Regions from separate parts of the Homo sapiens genome. Here regions 2, 3, 4, 5, 6 and 7 are each linked to region 1. The links are contacts of gene promoters, found by promoter capture Hi-C in blood cells and fetal thymus (Javierre and others, 2016). All regions are on one chromosome and are shown on one strand. Each heading gives the region's core, a stretch centred on a gene start or on the middle of the fragment in contact. The rest is flanking DNA. Distances are from core to core; before and after follow the strand shown. Region 1 holds the start of CERS6 (ceramide synthase 6). Region 2 overlaps ABCB11 (ATP binding cassette subfamily B member 11). Region 3 overlaps G6PC2 (glucose-6-phosphatase catalytic subunit 2). Region 4 overlaps SPC25 (SPC25 component of NDC80 kinetochore complex). Region 5 overlaps STK39 (serine/threonine kinase 39). Region 6 overlaps STK39 (serine/threonine kinase 39). Region 7 overlaps CERS6 (ceramide synthase 6).

Region 1 (3,407 bases), core at 650-3,149:
ACATAGAGCAAACCTGCTATCCCTGAGTCTGCTTGTTTTTGGAGAGCCTGCAAAACTGTATAGAGTTCATATTTTCTGTAACCAAACATTTGCTCTAGAGGTAACTCTACACCTGCAAACACACCCATTTTTTCACAGCACTGCTGTGACTTTTTTGATCCTTTTTTGTATAGGATCAATGACACATCTGTATTAGATTCCAATAATTTAAACATAGGTCTTAAAGTCTGTTGCTTTGTGCATGTCAATTTCTGCAGGCGAACAGCTGACTTCGTTTTCAAGCAACAATACTGTCCGGTGAAAAATATACCTTCCTGAGACAAAAGATACTTTTTGTCCCCATGAAGCTTTGTTGCCTCGTCCAGCAGCAAATGACTCAAAAGACGCGTTCTGCCACCCTCAACAGTCGTTTTCAGGCAAAGAGGAACAGCAAATGAGGTACCAGCAAAAGCTTAAGAAACAAAACCAAGGTGAGTTGAAGGCGGGGAAGAAAGGCGGAGTGGAAGCGAGAAATGCAATCTAAACTCTACTTTGTGATCTAAGAAATTCAGCCTTTACTGATGAATTGGGCAGAGGAAGGGGAGGGTACAAGAAAGGGGAAGATAATATTTTCTGTTACGAAAAAAAAAGTGTGCTGCTGTCCTGGTTTTCTTTCAGTAGCACCCAGAGAATGCATGGCAGGCACAATCTAGTTTCGCGACGAAAACGAATTCCATGAGAATAACACAAGTTTGTATGTGACACAATGGAGATATCCAACCAAACCGAGGAACTATACAATTGCATGACAATTCCTCAAAATTTTAAGTGCCTTCGAGTACCAAAAAAGAAGTTTATGATTATTCACAGGACAGGGTTATCAGTTTAATATCACCATTTTGCAGGATGTGGACCCGTCCTGTCACATCCTCTTTTAAAGAAACCGCTAATAACCTGAAATGCTATTATCCCCTATTTGCCAGGACTGTGGGCCTGATAGTTTCACGGATAAAAACCAAACAGCGACCAGAAGCCAGGAAGTCCCTGGCGAATTCTTTTGAAGCACAACCCCTACAATCCGTGTGCCGGAGCATAAAGATTGAAGTGTGCGCGGTTCCTCCTCCCTCCGGGCCGCGCGTCCGGAACGTTCCTGGCTGTCAGGTGGGTGGCGCGGGCCCCGGCGGGAAGCCCTGCCTGGCAGCCTTGCGTGGCGCGCCGGCGGAGAGGGGCGAGCCCCGCGGAATGCGGCGGGTCCTGAGCCCGACCACCGCTCACCTTTGTTCGCCTGCCCTTGCCGGGAGGAGAGCAGGGCCCAGGAGGAGGGCAGGGGGCGACCCTAACGCTCCGCGGCTCCTCCCCGGCGCCCGGGAGGAAATCCGTGGCAAGCCAGACCCTTTCTGGCTCCCAGAAAGCCAGCGGGGCAGGGGGGTCAGCAACCCCTCCCCGAACACAAAGGTTGGGAGGCGTGAACGCGAGCGTTGGGGGCGCGGGGGCGTGCGCCAGAGAGCGCGCGAGTGTGTGCGCGCGTGTGTGTGCGCAGGGGGAGGGGAGGAGGGGCTTCAGCCCTTCTTACCTCTCGAAGATGAGCCGCACCATGAAGATACAGAAGGCCAGGGGAAAAGCGAGATAGAGGTCCTCAGCCTGCGGGAAGGTGGCCTCCTCCGTGTTCTTCAGGTCCGCCCAGGTGACATTGTGCGGGAGCCAAAACCTCTCGTTCCAGAACCAGGCTAAGATCCCTGCCATCTTGCTTTGTCCACTCCTGTCCTGCGGCACCCGCAGCCCGCCAAGCTCTCCACCGCGCAGGGCGCCCGGGGATGCGCGCCCGGCTGGCCCCGAGCCTGTGCCGCCGCCGCCGCTGCTCCCGCCCGCCGCCGCCGCCTCCTCCGCGGCCGCTGCTCTCGAAGGCTCGCGGCGAGCCCCGGTTCTCTCCTCCCTCTGGCCGCGCTGGGGAAAGGGGCCGCCTTGCCCGTCACATGGCAGCTCGGGCCGCCCGCCCTGATTGGCTCGTCTTCGCGTCAAACAGCGAGGCACACACGCGGCCAACTCGCCCACACCCGCAGGGCAGGGCGCAGTCGCTGCGCCCTGGGCGCAGGGGCACCGCTCCGGGGAGTGTCGCCCGCCCCTGCTCTCACCGCTCTTTCGCTTTGCGCTTAGGGCGACGACCTAAAGTCGACCCCCCAAATCCGCCCTAGCCCCCTGGCTGGCTCGCACATGCTCAGAATGCTGGCTCCTGCCCCGCTGGGGTTTCAGGGCTCTCAGTCCTCTTCCCGTGCGCCCGGAGGCGGTGGGTCAGCAGGTAGGGGCTGCCGCCAAGCTTCAGAACCAGCCCTGCTCCAGGAGGACAGCAAAAAAAAAAAAAGGGGGGGGGAGGGGGAGGGGTAAAGAGCAAAGGAGGAAGTGGGAGGGAAAGGATCCTCCACTCCCGCGCTTGGAGAGGCAGGGTGAAAAATCAGGAACTGAGGCAGGATGGTTTGGCAAGAGCCTTCTGCCTCTGCCCCACGCCTGCCTTTCCCCAATCTTTGACTTTCCGGTCTTTTATACTGCTGCTTCTCATCAAAGTAGCTCCCCCAGGGAACAAGCCCCCCTATATTGATTTATGAGGTGGTACAAAAAATTAGGCACTTAATTGCTATTTGATTATTAATTGCTACTTGATGACGATGATGATGATGATGATGATGATGATAGCAACTGCAGCGTTCTGTAAAACCACCCCTCTCAACTAACCTCTCTGAAAAGGCTGCTAGACCACATTTTGACCTGGCACATCATGAGAACCTCCACTGTGCTACTCGGCAGGCTCATTATTTCTGCCTTTTGAATCTAAAACCTTTAAGGCATTAGGCCTGTGAGGCCTAACCCAGGCACCTTCCCTCCCGCAATGCATTTCCCCATTGATACAGGAGCCATGTGTGAATTCATTCCATGGCCCATGTATACATGGTTCTGGGGCATTTTTGTTCATTTTTCTCACATTCATTTTCTGCCTGGTGCTGCCAGTAGGCTATACTAAACCTTTCCAGTGGGCATATAACCGCACACACACACACACACACACACACAGAGAGAGGGAGTTTCTTTTACTCTTCCCTCCCCTCTTTCCACTCTATCTCTTGAAAGTGAAACTGAAGAATGGCCTATACTGGTGCTTCCAATTTCTCTCCCCTCATTTTCTTTTGAACTTCCATTTGGACATTTGTCTCCTCTGCTGCATTGAAACTGCCCAAGGTCACCTGTGATCTTCATGCTGCTAAACACAAAGGTCAGTTCTTATCTTAGTCCAGGCTGCTTAGACTAGGTGGCTTAAACAGCAGAATTTATTCCTCACGGTTCTGGAGGCAGGGAAGTCCAAGATCAACATGCAGGCAGATCCAGTGTCTGGCAAGGATCCTCTTCCTGGTTTGAAAACAGCTGTTTTCTTGTGTATC
Region 2 (3,407 bases), core at 554-3,053, 470 kb before region 1:
TATAAAAATAAGGACTAAGTATTGATTGCCTATAATTTATAATCCCTTCTGTTATTAAGTTGAGGTATAAAGATTGTAAATTTGTTTGAAAGTATTTGGTAACCAATAAACCTAGAAAGCCCATTGTAACCAGAGGTATAATTCTGATAAGTCAGAGGGTTCAATTTTCCAAAATGTCACTTCTGGCATGCCTGCAGCCAACATAGATTGTGAACTATGCAAGGTACAGGAAACTGAATCCCTCATATTTACTTTTCCAACATTAACATGTACATTAAGTATATTTCTCTGAATATGCCCAGTGAATGTTCTGGTCACAGGTCGAAAGCAAGGCCAATAAGGAAATCATTATGACTTCTTGCATTTCATAGGCACAGTATATTTTGTTACAACATCGTAAAACATTTCTACAAACATTTTAAGCAGAAAACCTACCACTTTTTATGTTTTTTTTTCAAAGTCCTCTTTGCTCTTAATCTACCAAATGTAGGCGTTCAATATTTTCAACATTTATTTGGATACCTATGATGTGCCTGTTACTGCATGAGTCCCTGTGGGAGAGTCTAAGGACCATGAAGCATGTCTTCTGCCTTCTAGGAGCTTACAATGTAGCACATTTAGAAGAATGAGCAAACAGCCTGAGTGTTTAATTATTAAATTGTGTTTTGCAGACTTAAGTGCTATGGAAAATGAGTAGAGCAAGATAAGCCAGGGCTAATTGTTATTGAGAAATGCTTTATATTTTTTCTAATAGTGTTTGCTTTTTCCATTACTTAGAAATTATCTTAAATATAATCTGTTCATACCATTTATCACAATTTTTTTCTGAAATAATAGGGCCAAATACTTTATAGTAGCACGTTAGGCATCTGTGCCTTTAATATTCTAGGACTCTTTAGTGAATCAGCTCATGTGGTAGATATTCAAGTACCTGGACTTAACTGCCTAACTAGACTGTGAGTTCCTAGGAAACAGAGATTATATTTTCTTTACGTAGCAGACATAGATGGCTTAGGATGGTGCTTTGTGGCAGGTGATTCAAATATATGTTTGTTGATTGACTAAGTGAATAAATGTATTCCTTTTTTACTTGGTTTTATTATCTCAGTTATGCAGAGAATGGTGTTAGTAAAATCAAGAAAACAGGTTTGACCCTTATATTGCCCAAAAGCTTCACAGAGAAAAATCCTTTCCATAACTCATGAGTCTCAAAATAGAGCAACCCTGTATATTTGTAGAGAGTGTGCTGCACCAAAGTAAGGGGACGTTGTTTCTTACCTGAATACCTGAGCGTCTTTCTCGTTTGCCCCACCTGTAGAGCCAGAGTTCAGGAAATAAATAGGACCATAGTCTGATTAGTGTTAACATGGATGCCACTCCTGATAGACATTACATCCAGAGGTCAAAGGCAACATAATTTATTCCATAATTTTAGCCTTGGGATTGTTAGTCTGTTAAGCAAACCAAATGTCCTGCATAACACCTAATGCTAGAATATGAACTTTCCTCACTGCTGGAATTCTAAAAACCTAATGACCTGTCATCTCCTCTATTGGCAGATGATAGATGGTCATGACAGCAAAAAAGTAAATGTCCAGTTCCTCCGCTCAAACATTGGAATTGTTTCCCAGGAACCAGTGTTGTTTGCCTGTAGCATAATGGACAATATCAAGTATGGAGACAACACCAAAGAAATTCCCATGGAAAGAGTCATAGCAGCTGCAAAACAGGCTCAGCTGCATGATTTTGTCATGTCACTCCCAGAGGTGAGTACGAAGTCAGAGCCATTCCCTATGAGAGACAAGGATGGGGAGAAGTAGAATGACCAGAGTGTACAGGTTGAGCATCCCTAATCTGAAAATCCCAAATCCAAAATGTTCCAAAATTCAAAAATTTTTGAATGCCAACATGATTCCACAGGTGGAAAATTTCACACTTGACCTCATGTGATGGGTCACAGTCAAAATGCAGTCAAAACTTTGTTTCATGTACAAAATTATTAAAAATATTATAGGAATTTACTTCTGGGCTATGTGTATAAAGTAGATAAGAAACAGGAATTTTGTGGTTAGACTTGAGTCCTATCCCCAGGGTATCTCATTATATGCAGATATTCCAAAATCTGAAAAAATCCAGAATCTGAAACGTTTCTGGTCCCAAGCATTTCTGATAAGAAATATTCAATCTGTATTATGATTGTGGCTCTAGAAGGTCAAAGGATATGCAATTTATTTCACAGTGCCCCTGGACTGTCTTAGTTTTTTAAGCAAAAGAAATATCCTTCATCAACATACTCTTTAATTTTGGAAAGTATTGTATTGCCCAATGCAATGGATGCTATTTTTGTTGAATTTTTTTGTACATTGAGCTTTAGTTTAGCATAGTGGGGAAACACCTGAGATTTGGAGCTGACCTGGGCTTGCATCCAAGCTTTGCCACTTAGTAGCTTCATAGCTTTGGGACAATTATCCTTTCTGAGATTGTCTATTTCATCTGCAAAATGCAAGAAAATAACGTTAAAATGAAGAAAACACACTTAATAGCCACACAATGAAAGCGGCCACTGGTATTACTGCCATCATCATTATTTCATTACTTGGCAATGTGTACCGTGGGTGGTGGGTAAGTTACACCTGCCTTACTGTCTCTTACTTTGCCAAACCCAAGTCCAGATTTCGCGCAATATTGACTCTGCATTTTTCCATCCACCAAAAGTCCCTCTTAGTTTTGATCACAAGAAAAATTACAACATGGAAACCAAATTGTAGGGCCAAATTTTACCTTTAACCTTCTCTACTTACTTTTTAAAAATATCCCTGGGAAAATTGTTTTTCTTTATAAGTGATTATGTTTATAAATTTTGTGGGTTTGTGGAAGGCTTTTTGTTTGCTCTTTTCACAAAGTCTCCTAAGTTTTAGGCTCTTGGCCCAGTTCTTACCTGTTAGCCCAATCTATAAGCACATGGAAATTACTATTTGCTGAATCCAGAGATCAAAAGCAAAGATTGTGTGTCTCCTGGAAGATTCATTTATCCCACAAACCCTTATTGAATAGCTACTCATGTTGGGCAAGGCACTGTCATGGAGCTGGTTTACTGCATTGTCCTCATACAGACTTGCCCGTGGCACCCTTCTCTGAGCACTTTGTCTCCACAAAGACAAAGCAGGTTTTCATGGGTCTCACCTGGCTTAAAGGAGCATTCCTCAGGAGGCAAGGGAAGCAGGGAAAGGAAACAGCTCGTGTTGTGGAAGGCAAGGAAGAGAAGTAGTCAAGGCAAGGACTTAGAGGAGAGCAAGATTCACTTTCATCTGGATTCAGATTTCACTTTCACTGCTTGTTACTTGTCCTCGCACCATTTTCTTACCTCCCTGTGCCTAAGTTTTGTAATCTAAAAAATAGTGTGGGTA
Region 3 (3,407 bases), core at 271-2,770, 450 kb before region 1:
GTTCAATTGAAGAGTGCTGGAATATACAGTTTTAAAATACTTAAGAAAAGAATCTCATTTTTAGAACCAAGTCACTTGACTTTTTCTTAAACCAAGATTTTTGTATGTATGTACCAATTTGATCTTGAATTTATTTAAAAATTTTGAAAAAATGTAAAGCATTTCAACATTTGACTTTTAGTTTCAAGGACATCTTATAACAATTCTTTTAATCACCATCTGTTTTATAATGAAATATGTCTAAAGAAGGCACCAACTTAACCTTCTTAGGCAGATGTCCAATCAATAGGTTGTCAAAGGAAAGGAACTAATATTCTTCCTGATAGCTAGTTTCAGCAATAATAAATTATTTTGTATTTTTTTTCCAAATGTAGGTTTGATTGGACAGTTTCTTGAGTCAGATTTTCTCTTGAGTCAGATTTTCTTGTCTAGATTTTCTCATCCTAAAAGCTCATGGTATTGACATTTTTCTCCTGAATATGTAGATAGGTAGACATTTTGAATATATGGTTATAGTAACAGTATTTAATGAGCTCAATTCCACTTACTTCTGACAAATAAATTGGAAACAGAAGAGTCTTTTCCATCATTATTAAGGGCAGGCATTTTCTCCAAGGCTGTGAAAAACGATTCCTCTTGCTGCCTAAGGCGTTTCAATTGCAAAAACAATTTACCACCATATGGATCCCTCCAGGAGACTTCAACTAGAATAAAGAGGGAAATCTACTCCCATGGGGACTCTGGGGTTTTTATGGAAGATAGGGGCAGAGTTCTTGGGGATTAATTATAGAAAACAAGCCCACACTTCATCCCAGTCCCCTCTGAGGGTAATGTGTTGCCCAACAGACAGCACCATGGGGTGGCTGAAGATAGCTTTCTCCATGGAAACGGAGAACGGATTTATGGTAGAGTCAATCATTGCTGCAGAATTCCCTGGCTATTAATGCCGGTTTCCTCAGGCCTTGCTGAAAGCAGGCTGAGATTGTACTAGGATGAAGGGGATGTACCAGAATCCTTCAAGACTAACATTATCTTATGTGAAATTTGGCAAAGGGCTTTTAGACAGGAATGAGATCTCTGATGTGTGGAAGATGTAATGACACAAATGTATCATGAAATGTGAAGGCATCTAAAGGTACAGCATGGTGGGACATAGGGTGGGACTGAACCAATGAGCAACGGTCATCACCTGAAGAATCATTCTTCTCTACTTCTTTCATCCCAAATGTCCCAGCAACATGAGACAAATTTCATTCTTAAGCTATTCTTTCTTAATCCCTCAGCTTTTTGCTTTGGAATCACCGAACCACTAATATCAAGTTCAGTTTATTTACCTTTTAGAAAGTTCAGTTGCCTTTTAGAAAGAAAGCTATTAAGTGCGTTTTATAAAAGCAATGACACATGCTCTATACATATACTTGGAAAGGAGTAATTAATACTTTGATTTTTTGAGGTTTGTTATCCTCAGCTACTATCATGTTAAACAACACTCACTTCAACTGTATTGTTTTCATTAATATTCATAGATTATTTAATATGTCATCTAAAATAATTAATGTATTGATATTCTGAGAAGAGTTACATAAAACATTGTGGGGGATTACTAAGATATCTAGCAAAATCTGCCTCAAAATCCTTGTACTTGATTGAAATGACACAGTTATCAACTTAAAGCCCAGCATTCCTAGATTCAATGAGGAAAAAACACACTTACTGAGAAATTGTTAATATAATATTAATAGTCCATCAACAATAATTTTCTAAAACAAAGCTATAGATTTTCATCACAGTTCAGTATACATAGAGACTAATCCAGCTAACAGATGCAAGCATTTAATAGTTGGCCTGGGTTGGAGCATGACCTTGAGGAAGGCACCTGATTTCTCTGGTTTTGAAAGTCTGTCTCCTAAAAATAAAGTATGGAGATGTCATAGTGAAGAGATAAGTCTTTGGGGGTTGAATAATGTTCTATTAGAGTAAGTTCAGTAGAATTTATTGAAATATTGGTGAGCACTACTGTAAAACAGAGACCAGAAGTGAAGCAGAGGTTCAAGTCCATACTGTAGCCTGGCCTGTTCTGTTGTCCCTGGACCCGTGTGTATATACATCTGGAGCCACTGTTGGTCCCACCTAGACCCTGCATGTATGTGTGGGGTATAAGTCAAAGAGGATGCAGTATTTCAATGTCATTTCTGAAAAGGTAGCTGATTTATATGGCAGTCATCATAGAATCTAAATGAAAGCATTCATTCTTACTGATTTTTACCTCTTGTAAATGAAGAAACAAAAGACAGTGTAGGCCAACTATTAATACAATGGCTCAAGCCTGCAATCCCAGCACTGTGGGAGGCTGACATGGGTGGAACATCCTCAAGGGAACTCCTTGAGGCCAGGAGTTCAAGACCAGCCTGGGCAAATATAGTAAGAAGCTGGCTCTAAAAAATATTCAAAAATTAGCCAGGCATGGTGGTGCACACCTGTAGTCTTAGCTAATGGGAGGCTGAGGAGGGAGGATCATTTGAGCCAGGAGTTTGAGGCTGCAGTGAGCCGCTATCCACCACTGCACTCCAGCCTGGGCAACAGAGCAAGTCCCTGGTTCTAAAAAGGAAACATACAAACAAAAAGCATGTGCATGTGTGCACACTCAAACACACAGTGTAATGGGGATATGTGTCAGAAGCCTTGGGTTCTAATTCCTGCTCTGAAGGTGGCGTGACTCCAGGCAAGTTCTTTTACCTAAATAGGCTTCCATTTCCTCATCTGAAAACTGAAACTGGATATGGCTGTGGTCCCCACTAAAATGTCAACAGGAATCAGATGCAGCCTGGCCTTAAGAAGATAAAGGAATCATAGTGGGGCTCCTGCTGGGATGCTGAAGACTGTGAGAAAATGGAGTCCTTGCCTCCTACTGGGGACTGTTAGTATGCAGCTCTGGTCAGTTGTCTCCAGCTGGGGATGCAGGCTCTGTGTTGTCATACTATCAGATTTTTCAAGAAATACAGAACTTCCGATTTTTATGTCAAATATTCTTGTATCTAAATATTGGTAACTGAAGGATTAAAAAAAAAGACCAGTGCGAAGGCCAAACTAAACATCTCTATGGGGAATGGGGCCTGTGCCGCTATTCTGTGAAGTCGGATTAGAAGCCTCTGGTCTGTGCCTACTCTGTGGCTCTACTGGTGGATGGAGAAGGGTGATCTGTGACACAGAGCACTAACTCTAGGCACCACTCTACTGACTCTTCTTTCCGCTTTGTTTCATTAACATATGAACAGAGTAGGGAATGAAAGCAACCACAGTTAGGGGAATGGATGCACTTTTACAAAAAGACAGCACATAAAATAAATGCTCTTCGTGAGTCGGGATCTGGAGGAAATGGTAGAGCTGCAGTATTGTCAATGAGGTCA
Region 4 (3,407 bases), core at 497-2,996, 430 kb before region 1:
ATTATAAATACTGAAAAATAATTTTTATATATAAATATTTGCACGTATCCTATTTCCCTAGGGTAACTTTGTAAAAATGAAATTGCTGGGTCAAAGGAGGTAAATATTTTTAAGGCTCTTTTATTTTACAATGTCAAAAATATTTTCTAGAAGGACCCTAGCATTTTGCATTCCTCTCAATATTAGTAATTATTTCTGTAAACATTGTTGTAATAAATGAAAATTGAAATCTTACTGTTTTACTTGCATTTCTGTGATTAATCTGAGGTTAAATTATCTTTCATATTTATTAGCCATCTGCATTCTGTGTTTCATCTGTTTATCCCTTTGTCTGTTTTTTTCTTAGGAATTTGTATTTGTGTCTTCCTCTTGAGATTAAAATGGTAACCCATTGTTGGAGGAGGATAATTTAATGGGCAAAGCATTGCCTTTGAAGTCAAGACCTGAGTTTGAATGCAGTCTGTCTGTCTGTTTATTTATTTATTTATTTATTTTTGAGACAGGGTCTCGCCCTGTCACCAGGCTGGAGTGCAGTGGCGTGATCGCAGCTCACTGCAACCTCCGACTCCCTGGTTCAAGCTATTCTGCCTCAGCCTCCCTAGTAGCTGGAATTACAGGCACACGCCACCACGCCCAGCTCATTTTTGTATTTTTAGCAGAGACGAGGTTTCACCATGTTGGCCAGGATGGTCTCGATCTCCTGACCTCATGATCCGCCAGCCTGAGCGTTGCAAAGTGCAGGGATTACAGGCGTGAGCCGCCATGCCTGGCCCTTATTATTTATTTTAGCCTAGCAAATACAGCTTTGGGCAAGTTACTGAACTGCTGAGTGTTTTTCCTCTTCTTTTAAAAAAGTAGTAAAAGACTAAAGAATTTATTTTGGATTTCGGCACTGTTTAGAGAATAATCTACCTCTTGAACATTGATTTGATATTTCATTTATCATATTAACTTCCTAACTGCCAACGTTTGTTTGGCATATCTTTTATAATATTTAGAAGCATAAAATATCTCTTCATATATCCAGATCAAATATGTGTCTCAGACAAGCTTTGCAGTTTTTTTCAAACAGAGCCTACATATTTCTTGATCTAGGTTGATTCTGAATTTTCTGTTTGTTACCTCTGTAAACGAGATTTTCCTGTTGCCTGAGGAATGCTTGTCTTGAGAGATGTTGTTCAAGCACTGAGAATTCCATGCTCACTTCAATTTGGGAAACATATCATAGTGTATTTCTCTTTTGAAGATTTATGGTATTTAAAGTCTTCATAAATTCAGTGATGGACTAACTTGTTTAACTTTGAGAAAAAGATTACTCATCCTTGGAGCACATATTTACTTGTAATTATGATACTGGAATTAAATGACAGTATAGATAGTTTGGTTTATTTGATACAATTCTAGACTACTGGCATTAATTGGCATTCGATTTTAAAGTGTTTAGATTTCATTTAAGTATTAGTAAAACTAAATCTTTAATTCAGAAATTCATAAGCACATTATAAAGCACCACTTGAGCTCTACTGGCTCTGCTTATTTGACCTCAGTAGCCTCTGCCCTAGAGCTCTTATGCTTTTTGTGCCTTCCTGCTTTGTCTAGCCCCCTGATTGGCATTTTGGGGACACCATCTCTGTGCAATGGGCCCCAAGTAGCAGCGGTTGTATCTTTCTTCCAACAAACAGAGGAAGAAGTGGTCCTGCCAGGGTTACTCCTTTCCCAGCAGAGAGGTTTGGCCAGGTTTATGCACAGGCATTGTTGTTTTTATTTTGAGCATGTGTGTGAGAAAGGGGTGGGTAGTTGCAGAAGCTGAGTGTTTAAGAGGGCTAGGGCAAGAAGAACTTGTACAGAGAGTGACAGGGACATGGGGAAGGCAGGGAAGGTAGAGAGATTAAAGCCAAGAAGGAGTAATGAGGTGCTGGCCAATATGTGAGACAGATGTAAAAGGCCAGTATTTTGGTACATGGATACCTTGTTTTATTGCACTTCACTTTATTGCACTTTACAGATATTGCAATTTTTACAAATTAAAGGTTAATGGCAACCATGTGTCAAGCAAGTCTGTGGGCACCATTTTTCCATCAGCATGTGGTGACTTCGTATCTGTCACATGTTGGTAATTCTCACAAGATTTCAAACTTGTCATTATTATATTTCTTGTGGTGCTCTATGATCAGTGATCTTTGACGTTACTATTGTAATTGTTTTAAGTGCCATGAATGACACCCATATAAGATGACAAACTTAATGGATAAATGTTGAATGACTTCTGACTGCTCTGCTGACCAGCCATTCCTGTCATTCTTCCTCTCCTTGGGCCTCCCTAGTCTCCAGTATTGAAATTAGGCCAATTAATAACCCTATAGTGACCTCTAATTGTTCAACTGAAAGAAGGAGTCATAGGTCTCTCACTTTAAATCAAAAGCTAGAAATGATTAAGCTTAGTGGGAAAGTGTGTCAAAAGCTGAGATAGGCTGAAAGCTTGGCCTCTTGCGCCAATTAGCAAAAGTGCTAATTCAGTGAACACACGAATGATAAGAAAGAGAAACAGCCTTATTGTTAGAGAAAATTTTAGTGGCCTTAATAGAAGAGCAAACAAACCACAACATTCCCTTAAGCAAAAGCCTAATTCAGGGTAAGACTCTAGCCCTCTTCAATTCTGTGAAGGCTTGAGAAAGATGAGGAAGTTTCAGAAGAAAAGTTTGAAGCTAGCAGAAGTTGGTTCTTGAGGTTTAAGGAAAGCAGCTGCCTCCATAAAATAAAAATGCAAGATGAAGCAGAAGTGCTAATGTAGAAGCTACAGCAAGTTATCTAGCTAAGATCATTGAATGAACAGATCATTAAAGAACGGATTTTTGATGTAGATGAAAAAGCAGTTTTCTATTGGAAGAAGATGCCATCTAGGACTTTCATAGCTAGAGAGAAGTCAAGGCCTGCTTTGAAGCTTCAAAGACAGGCTGACTCTTTAGTGACTAATGCACCTGGTGACTTTAAGTTGAAGCCTGTGCTCACTTGCCATTCCCCAAATCCTAGGGCCCTTAAGAATTATACTAAATCTACTCTGCCTATGTTCTATAAATGGAATAGCAAAGCCTAGATGACAGCACATGTGTGTATAGCATAGTTTACTGAATATTTTAGGCCCACTGTTGAGGCCTTCTACTCAGGAAAAAAGATGGCTTTCAAAATATTTCTGCTCATTAACAGTGCATCTGGTCACTCAAGAGCGCTGATGGAGATTAGTGTTGTTTTCATGCCTACTAAGACAACATCCATTCTGCAGCCCATGGATCAAGGGGTAGTTTTGACTTTCATGTCTCATTATTTAAGAAATAAGGTTATAGCTACCCAAATAGTGATTAACTCTGATAGATCTGGGCAAAATAAATTGAAAACCTTCCAGAGAAAGG
Region 5 (3,407 bases), core at 557-3,056, 410 kb after region 1:
GTGCCTTTACTTTCAACAGAAGTTACAAGGAGCTTGCTGTTCACTGAATGCTTTTCTTTCTCTTCTCTGTTATCAGGTTGATTCCTCTTCAGTATAGTTACTCATTTTTTCCTGTACTTACCTGAAAGGAGAATGTAATTAACCACTGTCTTTGGCAGTGGGTCTGTTGGAATTATTACCTGTTTGGCCCTTAGTCATGGTTGGTTGGTTTACATTCTTGGTCTCCTTTCCCAATCTTATTTGTCTTCTGTGACCCTTGCCCAGCATGCAGTTGGCCTCTCCTTCCACTGCAGACAAACAGGTCTTCGCTCACCTTCCCAAAAAGCTGTCACTGGTTCCCTTGGGTTTGCCTCACCACAGTGCAACAAAGTGCATGAATTTGGGTATTTGTAGATTTGGTGCAGTGTACATTTTAATCTTCTTCTTCTCTTTTTCTAAACTCCTGGTCCTTTTATACTTTCCTTCCTGTTTCTTAGATAATTATTAGAGGCTGATCTTTTCAGTGTTAGCATCTTTCTTATAAACAGTCTTTGGGTCATATTTCAGTATTTTATCAAGCTTACTTTAAGGACAAATCAAGCTGATGCCCAGTAACCTCTCTTAGGCTAGAATTGACTTTATGATGTTCAGTAAATCACCATGTTTAAGGACTCCAAACTTATCGTAGTGGCCTTGGACTTCAAGTTGCATATTGAGTGATAAGGAAAGGACCATATATCTATTTTTCCATCCTAATCTCTACTATGTTATTGGTGTTGAAACTGTAGAAAGGTCCATTAAGTCTAAGGTTACCTTAAAGGGAGGTTATCTCTGCTGTTAAAGTGACAATACCCGTGATATACTCAACAGTATTGCAAGGATCTTCCCCTTTCTCTCAAAAGTCAGCTATTGTTATTTACTTGTGCTGCTGCCTACTTCATGAAAAAAAGGAGCCATATAAAAGTGATACATTTTAACATGTTGCAGAGATGAACAAGGGCTTTCACACAACCTCCCCAGAGAAAGGAATAATAATTATTTTGATAAAGTGCTGTTCTATTTGAGAGGTTGCTTTCCTCTAGCTAAATCCTCAATAATAATGCCTACATCTATTATTGTTCTAATATAAAGAATTGCGAGTGTAGGGAATTATTTTATATAAAGAGATTCTCACTCTAGGGAATTTCTATACTGGATAATCTGCAGCCTCCTGAGTGCAAATAAAAAATGGAAATTAAAATCCTCTAGCTTTGAAGCATACATAATAAGGCTGCTGCAAGTACGAAGTCAGAAATTGTGAGATGATCAAAATCTTCACAGAGTAATATGTGCTAATGACAAAGTTCAGGTCAGAAACCAGGAAAAGAATTGAGAAAGGGCTATGGTTGTGTTAGCAGCCTCCTACATCTTTGTTGGTGGTCAGAAATTGTGCCTGTGTTGTACTTCTGAGTTAGTTGTAACCTATTATATTCCTCTTTGCTGTGTCACTCCTGCAAGGAGAATTTGCAGAGAAAATTCACATTTGCATTGCTTCTGTGTTTTAAAATTTAGAAGCAGCTGCAACATGATTTAATCAAGTAGGGAAATATCGTTTAACTACATTTTGGGGGTTGTTTGTTTGCCTTTTTGCTGTATATACACACTTAATTGATTCTGTTACTGGGGTTTGTATTTATTTTCAATTTAAAAATTAGGAATCATCAGCCTCCAGATTACTTGCCTCTATTAGTTATTGATGAGTGATTTTTTTTTGCCATCAATGAGTAATAAATAGAACACCTCAGATTAATTAATTCCATTTGTTGAATTGACCTTTGTTTCAGACACTGTTCTGGGGGTATAAAATGAATAAACCAAGTTAAATGATAAAGGAAAACATACTCTGATTGCTGAGTAAAAGGTGGGCTTTGAACTGTATTTTGTATTCATAGCCGTCAGTCAGGTAGTTGAAGATTGACTGGGTAAAGTTGGGCGGTGGGGACGGAGGGGCCAGGTAGATAATAGTTCTTAACTGTGGGTGTTAGGGACCTAAAAACTCAGATTAAGCCTGTAGCTTCCCCCTCCTGCCCCTACCAAATACATATTTAACATTTACATAGTATTTTGCAGGTGGTTTAGATAGGTTTACTGATCCCCAGAAACCCATCTATGGACCCTGCAAAGCTCCAAAATTAGAAGGAAGGTGGCTGGGTGCAGTGGCTCACTCCTATAATCCCAGCACTTTGGGAGGCCAAGATGGGTGGATCACAAGGTCAGGAGTTCAAGACCAGCCTGGCCAAGATGGTGAAGCCCCATCTCTACTAAAAATACAAAAATTAGCTGAGCATGGTGGCAGGCGCCTGTAATCCCAGCTACTCGGGAGGCTGAGGCAGAGAACTGCTTGCACCCAAGAGGCAGAGGTTGCAGTGAGCCAAGATCATGCCACTGCAATCTAGCCTGGGTGACAGAGCGAGACTCCATCTCAAGAAAAAAAAAAAAAAAAAAGAAGGAAGGAAGATAGAATTAAGATCCTTCAAACCTGTTGTTACTGTTTTTCCAGGAATGCCCAGACTCCATTGTAACCCCTACCTTTGAACTGGGCTAACCGGACTTAAATAGGAATTGTGCCATAACCTATCTCTTTGTTGTTTTTAATATACAAAGTAACAGTAGAAAGTTAGGTTGAGTATGAAGATGATTTTTAAAGGGAGGGCTTTTCCGTAGAGAGATGGACAGAGAGATACCCTAGAAATATTTAGAGGAACTGAAAGTTGAGTAAGCATTGATGTAACCACATGATATAAATGAATGATTTATTTTTACCTTGCCTTGTTCCAGAGAAGATTTAAGGTGACTTACAGTATGAAAGCATAAAGTAGGTGAAGTAAAATGAAGCTAAAATGAGATTTTAAAAATATCTTGAGAGTGGAAAGAGAATTGGGCAGGGAACCCAGAGTGATATAATTACAATCACTGAGAAGAAAATTTAGCCTTCAGCTTGTTAGCAACCAGGAAATTATAGTTGTCTATTTAGTCCTCCTCTCTTGACAAAAGTAGACCTATAGGATTAAAAGATTATATAGCGAGGCAAGCTTTTGCTTGATACCAAATTCAAGTGGAATTTATCTCTTGGTTCTTTCTATAAAGAACCTTGGATAACATGGCAGAGAGCTTGACCTACTGTTGCAAAAAATGTTCTTGAGTTATTTTTTCTTAGATTGACACTCCTTAGAAGTCAAGGGCTTATCTTCATTGAATTACAGCATACAACATAAAGTAATTTCTTCAGAGCCTAAACCAAGTTCAGGTCTGTTTTCTTTCCACTGATCAACTCTGAGAGAAGATCTTGAGCTTAAAGTTAAGGAAATGTTTTTAGCAGGGAAAGAATAGCAGTTAGTCCAAGTTAGGAGTTCTGACCACCATCTAAAGTACCCATTTGCTGTATGTTG
Region 6 (3,407 bases), core at 501-3,000, 320 kb after region 1:
TTATAAGCAATAATGTCTTACATAAAATAAAGGTGATTTTTTTTTCCCTTTCAGATTTTGGGGTAAGTGCGTTCCTAGCAACAGGGGGTGATGTTACCCGAAATAAAGTAAGAAAAACATTCGTTGGCACCCCATGTTGGATGGCTCCTGAAGTCATGGAACAGGTAAAAAAACAAAAAAAGTGACTTTTTGATGGACATAGTACAATCGTACAGATCATTAATATGCTAACATTTCATTTGTATCTAGCATTTTAGTAGAATGCATAATGTAACTAAGATTTAATTCTCAATTGCTAGCTAATTAGCAAACTAACGTGAAAGTTATACATCAACAGCTGTGGATTTCTGACATGACATGGACTTGATGATGTGTAACATGCCTGCTGTATGATTGTGTTTTTTTCCTGCTTTCTTTCTTAGGTGAGAGGCTATGACTTCAAGGCTGACATGTGGAGTTTTGGAATAACTGCCATTGAATTAGCAACAGGAGCAGCGCCTTATCACAAATATCCTCCCATGAAAGTAATTACAATTGGAAATACTACATCGGGGTTGAAATGTGATTGGACGGAATCTGTTTTCTAATTCTCTTCAACATCTTCATTCTTCTCTTAGACCCGAGGAGAATTAATGGAGGAACGCAGCCAAGTTGAACATTGTCTGATTTTCTCAGTGGACAGAATAGGACAAAAGTAGCATAATTCCCAGCTTTGAAGCTTGCTTTATAGTCTCAGCACAGAGTTAAGAAAATAATGTTATCAGATTGGTTGATGGAGGTTGATAGCTATGACAAATGCTGGTCATTACTCTTTTGATAGCAGAACAACGCCAGGTTCCCAGAGAATATCTCAAAATAGATTATAGTGATGTCATCTCTGCAAATGGGTTTCCCAGATTTTCAGAGCTTTTTTTTTTCTTTCTTTTTAAGTGGACTACAACATTTTTACCCCTGCTCTTATAGTGTAATGTTGGCAACTGATCTGATATAAGTGAGCCACAGTGTTTTTAGGATGCTATTTTCACGTTTCTGCTCTTCTTTTAACTGGTTTATACCTCATTATTTCTCTTAGTTCTGAGATAGTGGTATCAGGGCTTATTTACCCAACTGGATTTTGTTTTGAGGCTGAAATAGTTTAGTGAAATTATAATGCTATTTTACATAGAGTATGGTCTATGATTGTTTCATGGTTACTGGAAAAATTTGGGAGGATTTATTTTAAAAACCCAAGAATAAAAAGTGAGTTTTACTGATTAAAAGAAGTAGTATACTCATATTGTAGAAAGTTTGGATGTGCAACTCAGACTAAAGAAGAAAAACAATCATCCGTAATCTCATCAACCAGACAATCTCTACTAAGGTTTCAGTGTAATTCATTTTATTGTTTTTATATATATATATATAAATTTTTTTTAACATAGTTAGGATTTTAGTGTATTTGTGTGTGTGTGGGTACATATACCGGATTTTGCTAGCAGAAAATTTAAAATTGAAGCGTAAACAATTGAAGTGACCTCTTGGAGAAAAAGCACTGAAGTAATGCTGAAGGATTTTTTCTTTTATTCAGTTTTTCTTTCTTCATTTTCTTTCTTTTGCCTCTTCTCAGTGTTTCCCACCTGAATTCAAAGTCGCACTTGCTTGTCCCAGCCTGACGTCCTCTAGGACTTTTCTTCAGAGTTCCCAGTCTCCCGCTTTCTCCTGTGGGCTATTATCCTCCACAAACAATAAGCCGTCACTTTCACGCTTCATCTATTCACACATCTGAAAGTGTTTGAAAAGAGGCTTGACATGTATAGCATTTGCATAAATTAAGGCTGAATTATGCATTAATGAGTTTTATTGATTGTACAGGCTAGTAGTTTTCTACACTTTCCACTTTTTTTTTAAAGCAAATACTTTTGAAGTTAGTATGAAAGAGTGGAATTTTTACCGTTTTGATTTAAAGTTGTATTTTATTTTGTTTTGTCCCCCTCCGAAAGCAGCAAGGACTTTGGATTTGATGACAGTTTTTAGCAACTCAGTTATATTCTGGCTATCCTTCAGTGTCCTGCTCTCTCAGCTTTGCCAAGCCTTTTAGCAATTTTCTGTATGTTTTCTCATTTTTTTAAAGGAAATCATGTTACCTCCTGGGATGTTGTGGTTTTATTTTTAGGGCTAGTAATGTGTTACAGAAGCCTTGAGTACAGGCAGTTCCTTACTTATGAATGACCTGTATACATGAACAGTCACTGCCTCGCTGGCCCTCTCTCTTCTCCTCCACCCGCTTTCCCAACTAGCCTGTGCTGGAGCTACGTGCTCCTCAAGGCAGTACACGAGCCAGTTCCCAGAAAGCTCTGTCCGGGATCATTCTTAACACATAGAGCAAGTTTTGTAAGTTCTGTCAATGGAATAACAAAAAGGTTAAAGGGGGCATGAACACATTTGCAGTGGTAATGAATACTTTAAATACACAATTTCTGCAAAGTTAAAATCATGGGAAAGCACTTTGTATCTAATCAAGGATGGTTTTTTACACTTTTATGAAAAATTCAAAACTAGATTGTAGCAATTGCTATACTGAGATTCTGTCTTCATGTTTGTTTCTGCTGCAGGTGTTAATGTTGACTTTGCAAAATGATCCACCCACTTTGGAAACAGGGGTAGAGGATAAAGAAATGATGAAAAAGTACGGCAAGTCCTTTAGAAAATTACTTTCACTGTGTCTTCAGAAAGATCCTTCCAAAAGGTAAGTGAAACTTAGTGGATGAGTTAATGACCTGGTTTGAGCCATGACAAAGCTTTGTTTGTAGATGGGGAAAGGCTTTGTGAGGACACTGGAAAGGTATTTCTTGTCTGGGAAACCCTGCTGTGGTCCCCAGATTTCCAACCTGTTAGTGAAAGACGGTGTGGGTCCAAGAGGGAAAGAAGTGGGTGAAGAACGAAGGAGAGGCAGAGGAAAAATTGTGGTGTTAACAAGATTCACTGTGCTTGTTAAGTGTGGGCTCTGTCATCAAAGGAAATGAAGTAAAACAGAAATCAAAAGAAATTGGCAGTGCTGCATTCAGAAGCTGAGCTAATATTCTTCACTGTGTAGGTTGAACTGACCTCTCAGGATTTGAATATCCTGCTAGCTCCAGTCTAAACTAGGCAGAGCTATTGAATTTTGCATGAGCTTCCTGTTAGTTGCAGAACAAGTTGTTGGTGCTGTTTAAAAGATTATCAGTAAAGAAGATTAAGGAGATTTTTTACCTTAAAAAGATTAATCATGTAAACAGAAGCAAATGGCTTTAAATTAACATTAGTGTTTCCTATTTATTCTTGGGTTATTGCCCTGCACTGTAGTGTGTCTGTTTTCTGAGTTCCTTTTCTTCCTTCTTAATTTCTGTGACTTTGAAATATCCTGGTTAGTGATCATGGAGCCCACTGTT
Region 7 (3,407 bases), core at 644-3,143, 290 kb before region 1:
TCCATGACCTGAAGACCCAAGTTACTACGCTTTCCCTAGAAATTTCTGCATAAACTGCCCCTTAATGTGAATGTAATTAAAAGTGGGTATAAATATGACTGCAAAACTGCCCTGAGCTGCTACTCTCTGCCTAGTGGGTAACCCTGCTCTGCAGGAGCACACACAGAGCTGTAGCACTGCCTCTTCAATAAAGCTGTTTTCTTCTACCTCCGGCTTGCCCTTGAATTTTTTTCCTGGGCAAAGCCAAGAAGCCTTGTGGACTAAGCCTCACTTTGGGGCTCACCTGCCCTGCATCAGGTGAGTTTCCAGAAAGCCAACTCTCCTAAGTCGAGGTATCACAGCAAGACCCCGTCTCTACAAAAAATAAAAAATTAGCTAGGCATGGTAGCGCACGCTACCATATTCTCAGAGCTGCAGAAGGGCAGCCTCACTTAGCCACAGTCCCAGCTTCCTGCTCCAGAAAAGGAGACAGTTGCTGGAATCACTCTACTTCCCCCATCTGCTCAGACTGTCAAGTTTTAGGTGCGTTGAATAAGGGGTGGAGACAGCTCTCAGTGAGCATGTGGCTCCCTGGAAGTGCTGAGAAGACAGGAGGCCAGGGAAAAGGAGGGCATACCTGTTGGGGAAAAGGACCTGCCTATATGGGATGGGCTTGCGCATTTCTCACTCTAAAACTGATTTTTAAATTCCGTCTGAACAAAAGAAGCAGCACTCAGATTCATCCATGGTTATGAGTGTGGGGATTCAGATAGCGAAGAGGGGTCAACTTAAACAAATAGTATGATATTTGATATCCTTTGCCCCTGGAATGTGGGTTTGTTGGCAAGTTTGGAGCTGTCTTTGTCAAGATGCCTGATATTTAGAGCTTAATAGCTGCCTAGGGACTGTGAAATCTGCCTGGGTTCTGCACTCTTCTGTTACTTTCTTATGTCATAATTTTGGAAGATATAGGAGAGAGAGTGCTTCTGGAAATGATGGGTACAATACCTCAAACCTTGTCTTTTGGGGAAAGGAGGAAATGGTAAGACAGAGGGGGAGGAAGGGATGGGGGAGGCAGGAATCAGGGGGTGGGAAAAGGGCAGACAGAAAGGACACAAGAGATCTGCTTCCCTGGGGCACTGCAGGTGCCTATACTGTGAACCAAGAGCAGGCCTTGCACAAACTCAGCATGGCATTTAATACCTGCCCCCCCCCCACCCCCAACCACGCCATTTCTGGGATTAAATGTTATACTAATAAAAAGACAAATAGATGTGCCGTAGACCTTGGGAGAGGGAAGTCCCTGTGCAAAACTCAGAGCCTGAGATCTGAAAGCCTTTTCCACCTGTAACTGCCAGGCTGGAAATCTGCCTGATGTGACCAATTTGCTGGCAAGCCTTGGACAGGCACACACAACGCTTTACTGAGGAAGAAAGAAATACAAACACAATTTGACTGAAGCAGTCCCCAGGCCAGCCATTCGGTGGGGGCGTGCAGGTTCAGGAGTAGGACCACAATGAGTTCTTTTGCAGAAATCACTGCAAACACTTCCAAGTTGTGGCTTTAGAGATGGTGGTTTTATTTAGTAAAAATTATTTTTCCAATACTCAAAAGACAGTATACAGAATCTCAGGGGGTTTCATCTAAAAATAAATTTTAAAAAATTATTTAACTAACAGGACAAGGCACTCTCTTGTGTTTCCACCAGTTATACTGAGTTTAACTGTGCTTATCCATTCAATGTTAATTACTTATTTCCATAGTCCCTGATCATAAATAAAATGGTTACAGTCAACAAGCTGAAGGTAAGACTTCTACTCTCACTGCAGAAAGAGCAATAGCCAAGGCCATACCTTAAATTGGAGAGGAAATTTATCCTACACACCATTGGCCATCTGAGTGTACAGGGCCTAGCTCCTTGTCAGAAGGTTAGGTGGCATCTGGGTAGCATCTGATGCAGCTTTCACTCACAGATATCACAGATTTTGATGAGAAAATCACAACATATTCAAAGAGAAAAGTGGGCAAAGAATCAGAAGAAATACAACTGGCTTATGAAAACATGAACAAAATGTTCTCCCATATTAATAATCCAATAAATACAAAGTAAAACAGGATACATGCATGTTGAAGTCTTTGGGCTGAACTGTCATGATATCTGCAGCCTAATTTCAGATAATTTGGCAAATGCGTGTGTGTGTGTGTGTGTTTATGTGTGAGCGTGTGTAGGAAGTGCTATTGGTATCATAAGGGCTAACGGTGAGTGCAACTGGGGGTATATGCATATTTACTGTATTTTTTCAAATTTTCTGTGGGTTTGAAAATGTTGAAACTAATAATTAAAAGAGATAATATTTAAACTATATGATCAAATATACATAAAAAAGAGAAAACACTGTGTTATCAAAAAATAAAATGAAACCACTCAAATACATAGTTTGTCAGGGTACAAGTAGCTGAAATCTTCATAGAAAATAATTTGGCTATATATATCCAGAATATCTTAAAATAACTCTCTACCTTCAAAGTCACTTTTACGGTTATCTATCTTTTAAGAAATAAAGGTTACCAACAAAGATTTAAGTTCAAGAATGCTTTCTCAATACTATTTCTAATGGTTTTAAAAAATGATTAAAAATCCATATCTATAGTGGTAGAACATTATTCATACATTAAAATCATGTCTTTTATCTAGTGACATGAGAACATTCTCACAACTTAATGAAAAGTGACAAAAGATTAAAAAAAAAAAAAAATTTGTTGAGACAGGGTCTCACTCCATTGCCCAGGATGGAGTGCAGTGGTGCAATCATGGCTCACTGAATCCTCCACCTCCTGGGCTCAAGCGATCTTCCAACCTCAGCCTCCTGAGTAACTGGGACCATAGGCATGCACCATCATGCTCGGTTAATTTTTTTAACTTTTATTTTTAATAGAGACGAGGTCTTGCTATGTTGCCTAGGCTAGATTAAAAATTACGTACAGTATAATCTCCAATTTTCCTTTAGACATTTTACACACATATGTATAAAACATGATTTAAAGTGCGATTAAATGAACATATGCCAAAATGGTAATTAACACTAGGTACTTCTGATTCCAGGGATTTAAAATGTTTTCTACATTTTCCAAATGTTCTCTAATGAGTATGTATTCTTATAATTAGAGAAAATAACATACTTTAAATCTATATAAATGCATATAATCATTTTTTCAAAGATGATTTTATATATATATATATATATATATATATATATATATATATATATATACCCTTTACCCTTTTAAATCAGTTTGGAAATAGCTACTTGTGTTCAACTCTCAGGTGCAGAAGAGGGGAAGCTGCTTCAGTGCCAGGGCTGAACATCTTTAGGATTGCACAAGGTGTACCAAGGGGATAAAACTCAGAATTTAAGCCTGTTGTTAGT

What was found. Contacts are between HindIII fragments. The CHiCAGO score rates a contact against its expected background, and 5 or more counts as called.
Region 2: a contact is called between a fragment that was not itself captured here and the fragment with the promoter of CERS6 in region 1, in 2 of 17 cell types (megakaryocytes and erythroblasts). The highest score is 8.5, in megakaryocytes.
Region 3: a fragment that was not itself captured here is called in contact with the fragment with the promoter of CERS6 in region 1 in 4 of 17 cell types (erythroblasts, total CD4 T cells, naive B cells and 1 more); the score reaches 7.4 in erythroblasts.
Region 4: a contact is called between a fragment that was not itself captured here and the fragment with the promoter of CERS6 in region 1, in 3 of 17 cell types (fetal thymus, erythroblasts and naive B cells). The highest score is 6.5, in fetal thymus.
Region 5: a fragment that was not itself captured here is called in contact with the fragment with the promoter of CERS6 in region 1 in 1 of 17 cell types (naive B cells); the score reaches 5.1 in naive B cells.
Region 6: a fragment that was not itself captured here is called in contact with the fragment with the promoter of CERS6 in region 1 in 2 of 17 cell types (total CD4 T cells and activated CD4 T cells); the score reaches 5.8 in total CD4 T cells.
Region 7: a fragment that was not itself captured here is called in contact with the fragment with the promoter of CERS6 in region 1 in 10 of 17 cell types (non-activated CD4 T cells, naive CD4 T cells, naive CD8 T cells and 7 more); the score reaches 20.7 in non-activated CD4 T cells.

Annotation. Positions count from the first base shown.
Region 1 is chr2:168,454,764-168,458,170 of GRCh38, reverse strand. It overlaps CERS6 (ceramide synthase 6), which reads right to left and starts at 1,899. Exons shown (of 10, transcript NM_203463.3): 1 at 1,553-1,899. The coding sequence starts at 1,722. LOC102724081 (a long non-coding RNA gene) reads left to right here. Exons shown (of 4, transcript XR_002959433.2): 1 at 1-1,140. RefSeq lists silencers at 1,208-1,267, 1,718-1,847, 1,968-2,057, 2,088-2,307. The HindIII fragment of the contact is 1,842 bases long and covers 454-2,295 here.
Region 2 is chr2:168,925,515-168,928,921 of GRCh38, reverse strand. It overlaps ABCB11 (ATP binding cassette subfamily B member 11), which reads left to right. Exons shown (of 28, transcript NM_003742.4): 26 at 1,560-1,766. Among named protein-coding and RNA genes, the nearest start is that of G6PC2, 26 kb to the right of the region's middle. The HindIII fragment of the contact is 1,259 bases long and covers 1,174-2,432 here.
Region 3 is chr2:168,907,904-168,911,310 of GRCh38, reverse strand. G6PC2 (glucose-6-phosphatase catalytic subunit 2) reads right to left here. Exons shown (of 5, transcript NM_021176.3): 5 at 1,311-3,407. The coding sequence ends at 3,232. Among named protein-coding and RNA genes, the nearest start is that of G6PC2, 8.3 kb to the right of the region's middle. RefSeq lists an enhancer at 2,573-3,368. The HindIII fragment of the contact is 5,946 bases long and covers 1-3,407 here.
Region 4 is chr2:168,879,690-168,883,096 of GRCh38, reverse strand. All of the region lies in intron 3 of SPC25 (SPC25 component of NDC80 kinetochore complex), which reads left to right. Among named protein-coding and RNA genes, the nearest start is that of SPC25, 9.0 kb to the left of the region's middle. The HindIII fragment of the contact is 1,387 bases long and covers 1,053-2,439 here.
Region 5 is chr2:168,041,634-168,045,040 of GRCh38, reverse strand. The region is part of intron 14 of STK39 (serine/threonine kinase 39); the gene reads left to right. Among named protein-coding and RNA genes, the nearest start is that of B3GALT1-AS1, 100 kb to the right of the region's middle. The HindIII fragment of the contact is 2,492 bases long and covers 561-3,052 here.
Region 6 is chr2:168,137,406-168,140,812 of GRCh38, reverse strand. STK39 (serine/threonine kinase 39) reads left to right here. Exons shown (of 18, transcript NM_013233.3): 6 at 55-164; 7 at 423-524; 8 at 2,592-2,725. Among named protein-coding and RNA genes, the nearest start is that of STK39, 110 kb to the left of the region's middle. The HindIII fragment of the contact is 2,059 bases long and covers 721-2,779 here.
Region 7 is chr2:168,746,620-168,750,026 of GRCh38, reverse strand. The region is part of intron 8 of CERS6 (ceramide synthase 6); the gene reads right to left. Among named protein-coding and RNA genes, the nearest start is that of CERS6-AS1, 38 kb to the left of the region's middle. The HindIII fragment of the contact is 6,559 bases long and covers 1-3,407 here.